2 separate regions of the Homo sapiens genome follow, and region 2 is linked to region 1. Evidence: promoter capture Hi-C in 16 types of primary human blood cells and fetal thymus (Javierre and others, 2016). All regions are on one chromosome and are shown on one strand. The core of a region is centred on a gene start or on the middle of the fragment in contact, and the rest is flanking DNA. Distances in the headings are between cores, read along the strand shown. Region 1 holds the start of TM4SF19 (transmembrane 4 L six family member 19). Region 2 overlaps RNF168 (ring finger protein 168).

Evidence for each region. The method cuts DNA at HindIII sites, captures the fragments that hold promoters and counts their contacts. A CHiCAGO score of 5 or more calls a contact.
Region 2: a fragment that was not itself captured here is called in contact with the fragment with the promoter of TM4SF19 in region 1 in 1 of 17 cell types (M2 macrophages); the score reaches 5.3 in M2 macrophages.

The regions. Positions count from the first base shown.
Region 1 is chr3:196,336,956-196,339,655 of GRCh38, reverse strand. It overlaps TM4SF19 (transmembrane 4 L six family member 19), which reads left to right and starts at 1,268. Exons shown (of 5, transcript NM_138461.4): 1 at 1,268-1,392. It overlaps TM4SF19-DYNLT2B (TM4SF19-DYNLT2B readthrough (NMD candidate)), which reads left to right and starts at 1,236. Exons shown (of 6, transcript NR_037950.1): 1 at 1,236-1,392. RefSeq lists a silencer at 964-1,135 and enhancers at 884-1,178, 545-1,744. The HindIII fragment of the contact is 5,119 bases long and covers 1-1,639 here.
Region 2 is chr3:196,467,825-196,470,797 of GRCh38, reverse strand. It overlaps RNF168 (ring finger protein 168), which reads left to right. Exons shown (of 6, transcript NM_152617.4): 6 at 1-2,015. Among named protein-coding and RNA genes, the nearest start is that of RNF168, 34 kb to the left of the region's middle. RefSeq lists a silencer at 415-591. The HindIII fragment of the contact is 4,437 bases long and covers 1-2,973 here.

The DNA.
Region 1 (2,700 bases), core at 19-2,518:
TCACACCTGTAATCCCAGCACTTTGGGAGGCGGAGGCGGGTGGATCGCCTGAGGTCGGGAGTTTGAGACCAGCCTGACCAACATGGAGAAACCGTGTTTCTACTAAAAATACAAAATTAGCCAGGCGTGGTGGCACGTGCCTGTAATCCCAGCTACTTGGGAGGCTGAGGCAGGAGAATTGCTTGAAGCCAGGAGGCAGAGGTTGCAGTGAGCTGAGATTGTGCCACTGCACTCCAGCCTGGGAACAAGAGTGAAACTCCGTCTCAAAAAAAAAAAAAAGAAAAGAAAAGATTTGTGCACTTTACTGTATATAATATCTAGATGTTTAAAATGCAATGGGAGCATAGAGAAAGAAGTACCTAACTCGGAGTAAAGAAATCCTGGCAGACTTCACTGGGAATGTTTGAACTGAATCTTGAATAGGAGCTTGTCCATAGAGGGTCACGGATCTCCCACACAGAGAGCACCACAAAATCCTCAGCAATTTGGTGAGAGTATGGTACAAGATGATAGTGGCCTGGGGCTTGAACAAGAGGCTGAGTGCGGTGGCTCACACCTGTAATCTCAGCACTTTGGGAGGCTGAGGCGAACACCTGAGGTCAGCAGTTCGAGACCAGCCTGGCCAAAATGGCAAAACCCCGTCTCTATTAAAAATACAAACATTAGCCGGGCATGGTGGCAGGTGCCTGTAATCCCAGCTACTCAGGAGGCTGAGGTGGGAGGATTGCTTGAGTGTGGGAGGCGGAGGTTGCAGTGAGCCGAGATCATGCCACTGCACTCCAGCCTGGGTGACAGAGTGAGACCCTGTCTCAAAAAAAAAAAAAAAAAAAAGTTAGACGTCTAGTACAGGAACCATGCAACACATCGAGTCAGCCAAGGGCAAGGTAAGGAGAGTGATGAGGAAAAAGGGGTGGCTGCCCTGCTCGGTGCTGTTCTGTCAAAGAGCCGAAATTCTTCGCGGGGTGGCAGATGAGGACAGGAACAGCTGGGGTGTGGCAAGTGTTGCTGCCTGGGGAGAGCGGAGGGTGAGGTGTTTCTCACGGGTGCATCCAGTGACTCATCAGGACAGCGGAGCTCATGAGGCCATGTCTCCCGTTTCCTGCCTTAGAATCACATGAAAATGAGCAGAGGGTGGGTCATCAGGACAGGGCTCTCCGGGGAGCGGAAGCGCCTTCAATGCAGGCCTGTGGGCAGGGGCGTGGGGGCGCGCACACACACACGCCTGGGTGACCTCTACGTATATACAGAGCCTCCCTGGCCCTCCTGGAAAGAGTCCTGGAAAGACAACCTTCAGGTCCAGCCCTGGAGCTGGAGGAGTGGAGCCCCACTCTGAAGACGCAGCCTTTCTCCAGGTTCTGTCTCTCCCATTCTGATTCTTGACACCAGATGCAGGTAAGCAGAGATGAAAGGGTGAGGTGACGGCCAGGGAACAGCCTAGCCTCACAGATGAGAGTGCACGCTTCCACTCCAGTGAGCCTGGCTCTGCAGCTTGGCGTCTGTGTGACTTTGCGCCATTCACTTACCTTCTCCTGTTGCCTCAGTCTGTCAACTTCTGGCCTTTGCACCTAGAATACTCTTCCTGCCTAGTATCTCATCGTCCATCAAGTTTGGGCATGGGCAGCCCTTCCTCCGGGAAGCTTCGTTTTGCTTCTGCCAGATAGGATTAGGTTCCTCCATGTGCTTCCATGACACCTTAAGTTGGATGCCCCTGCCTGGTACTTACTGTTACCAGCTGTGAATCCAGCGAGTCTGCAGCAAACTCAATCCTTGCCTTCTCGGGGGAGAGATTCGGCTGAGGGGCAGAAGTGGGTTTAAGGCAGAGGGAGAGGCTGAAGCAAGTTTGAGAGCAGGAGTGAAGGTTTATTAAAAAGTTTTTGAGCAGCAATGAAAGGAAGTAAAGTACACTTGGAAAAGGGCCAAGTGCGTGACTTGAGACACCCAAATGTGCTGTTAGACCCTTGACTTGGCGCCTGCCTGCCGCACAGGCACTTGGGAGGGGCCGCATGCGCAGTGTGTTTACTGAAGTCGTGCGCATGCTCACTTGAGGCGTTTTTCCCTTACCCGCGGAGCAGCACTAGAGGAAGGTCACACACACCAGCTAAACTCCACCATTTTGCTTCTTAGTGTAGATGCTTGAGCCCACTCGCCCAATTCCTGAGCTCTTACCAGGAAGCTGCTGATCACCAAGTTCAGGTATTTTCTATCTATTGGGAGACTGTCTTTCCCAACGCTGGCTGTGACCAATATTATTTTAGAAAGACAGTGTAACAACCGCCTGGCCATCACCTGATAGTCACCTGACATTACTGGGGTAGAGGCCCTCTCCCGCCCTGCTCATGTCTGCTCTATTTCTTACCACACTTGATTAGAATTACTTTTTGGCCAGCCTGACCCACATGGCGAAAACCCATCACTACTAAAAATACAAAATTAGCCGGGCGTGGTGCATGCCTGTAATTCCAGCTACTTGGGAGGCTGAGGCAGGAGAATAACTTGAACCCGAGAGGCGGAGGTTGCAGTGAGCCAAGAGCATGCCGCTGCACTCCAGCCTGGGCAACAAGAGCGAGACTGTGTCTCAAAAAAAAAAAAAAAAAAAAAAAAAAAGAATTGCTTTTTGCGTCAGCAGTGTCCCCACTAGACTTTAAGCTCCTCAAGGAAAGGGATTACATCTTTTTCATCGTTATATCCCTAGCCCCCCAA
Region 2 (2,973 bases), core at 209-2,708, 130 kb before region 1:
TATGCAGAAGGAGTTAAGAGCTGGGATGAGGCTGGATGGGGTGACTGACAGTCCAGATCATTGAAACAGATTGGGTCGTCGGAAACTGGTCCAGATGAGGCTGGATGGGGTGACTGACAGTCTGGATCATTGAAACTGATTAGGTCGTCAGAAACGGGTCCAGACGAGGATGAGGCTGAGGCTGGATGGGGTGACTGACAGTCTGGATCATTGAAACTGATTGGGTGGTTGGTCAGAAACGGGTCCAGATGAGGATGAGGCTGAGGCTGGATGGGGTGACTGACAGTCTGGATCATTGAAACTGATTGGGTGGTTGGTCAGAAACGGGTCCAGATGAGGATGAGGCTGGATGGGGTGACTGACAGTCTGGATCATTGAAACTGATTGGGTCGTCAGAAACTGGTCCAGATGAGGCTGGGTGGGGTGACTGACAGTTTGGATCATTGAAACTGATTGGGTGGTCAGAAACTGGTCCAGATGAGGATGTGGCTGGATGGGGTGACTGACAGTCTGGATCATTGAAACTGATTGGGTGGTCAGAAACTGGTCCAGATGAGGATGTGGCTGGATGGGGTGACTGACAGTCTGGATCATTGAAACTGATTGGGTGGTGAGAAATGGGTCCAGATGAGGATGAGGCTGGATGGGGTGACTGACAGTCTGGATCATTGAAACTGATTGGGTGGTGAGAAATGGGTCCAGATGAGGATGAGGCTGGATGGGGTGACTGACAGTCTGGATCATTGAAACTGGTCCACTATGACGCAGCAGGGGCAGTTTGGCAGAGCATCCTCTTCCCTTGTCCTTGTGAAAGAACACAGGAAACATTTGGGTTTTACAGCTTTTCACACCCTACTATCAGGCATCAGAATCAAAATTAGTTACTAAATTGGGTGAATTTTTGGAAACCTGCATTTCTATGCATCTGCTATTCCAGAAAAAAATGGGAATGTATTACAGGAGAGTTACCTCACAGTGTCTTATGTTGTGGAACCTGAAACATAACCACGTGTTTTCTTATATGATCATTTGTGTTGATACTGCTTTTATTTGAGTTTATGAACAGAAATAGAAAGTATGGTGCTTGGGTTTTGCCCTTTCTTACTCCTGAAAGTTAAATCAGAAGACACTGATTTCATTTTGTGAAATTTAGCTCAGAGACTATTGATCTTTTGTTTCATTAATATGAACAACTATTAGTAAAAAATAGCTTTAACAGCATTTCTGCTGATATCTAGTAATCTATTCTTTTAATGTGAAAATAAGATAAAATGTCCTGGAGCTAATTCTAGCTTAAATTTGCCAGTATTTCTGTATGTCATTAAGTTTTTTTCCTCTAAGGTTGGTAATAGAATTTTGTTAATCTTTGCATACCTGATGGCATCTATGTCAATGCTGATTGGGTAATTATAAATTCTGTGCTAATTTAAAACTTAATTTGCCTCTTAAGGTGATTGTCCTCTGAGTAATGATTGTAGTTAAATGAAGTATAGCTTGCAACTATACTATCACATGGGTCGTTAAGTAAAAATAAATAAACCAAATTTGTCTGAGACAGGCTAAGATCAATCTTCTCATCAAACCAATTTTTCTCTAAGAGCAATTTCACTTTCAGTTTTAGGGTGGACATTCTTGAATGCCTCAAATTAAACGTTATCTATTTAATCTTCCTGGAATAGTCTGTGACCAAAAAGGAGGGTGTGATATATTTAGGTGTAAATATATCACATATATGGTGTGATATATTTGGGATTTATATATTCAGCTCATTCTCTGTGAAGAAGTCTTCCTGACTAAAATTGGTTTCAAGATAAACTAATTTCTGTTAGTATTTCTACTCTGCCTACCATGTATGCCTTTTTGTTAGAAACTAATAAATGTATCAGTCACTAGCAGGTACTGGTCCTTTTTCCTCTCATTTTTGTGGAAAGGATATGCAAACACTGAATTTCTCAGGGAGTACTAAGGCTGTGCAGAGGCTGAGAATCTGAAAAATAAAATACTAAAAATAAAAATGGATTATTATGTGTATTTTACCACAACTTAAAAATATGTAAAAATCAGCTACATGAAAATTAAAAGTTCTGCATAACAAAAACTACCATCAAGGGAAATTGGAAGCTGTGGCAAACTTGGGAAGAAATAGTTGCAGTTCATCACAAAGAGCTAATTTCCTTTATGTAAAGTATCCTCCAGTTCATTAAGAAAAGACCAATAACTCGGCCGTGCATGGTGGCTCACACCTGTAATCCCAGCACTTTGGGAGGCCGAGGCAGGCAGATCACCTGAAGTCAGGAGTTTGAAACCAGCCTGGCCAACATGGGGAAACGCCGTCTCTACTAAAAATACAAAAATTAGCCGGGTGTGGTGGCGTGTGCCTGTAATCCCAACTATTCGGGAGGCTGAGACAGAGAATTGCTTGAACCCAGGAGGCGGAAGTTGCAGTGAGCCAAGATTGTGCCACTGCACTCCAGCCTGGGTGACAGACTGGAGACTCCGTCTCAAAAAAAAAAAAAAAAGAAAAAAAAGAAAAGTCCTCAATAGGAGAACTAGAAATGCGTATGTTCCCAAGAAACATCATTCACAAGAAAGTAACTATAACCGGTTCTGAACTATTAGGTGAAGAGATGCATAATCTTATGCTAATACTCATAAGTTTGTTCATCCTTCAGATTAGCAAAGATAAGGGAATTTTTTGTTTTGTTTTAATCTTGGCAAGACTGCGAGGAACTAGGCATTCTTATACATTGCTTGGTATGAATAGATAATTGAAAATCTCTGGAGGTACGTTTGACTATTCTAGGAATTTCTTAAGGCTGTCTTCACATGTATGCAGAATGACATGTAGGAGAAATTTTTGGCTGGGTGTGCTTGCTCACGCCTGTCTCAAAATAAAAATAAGCCGGGCATGGTGACATGTGCCTCAAAAAAACAAAAACAAAAAAGGTCGGGGGGTCAGGCACGGTGGCTCAT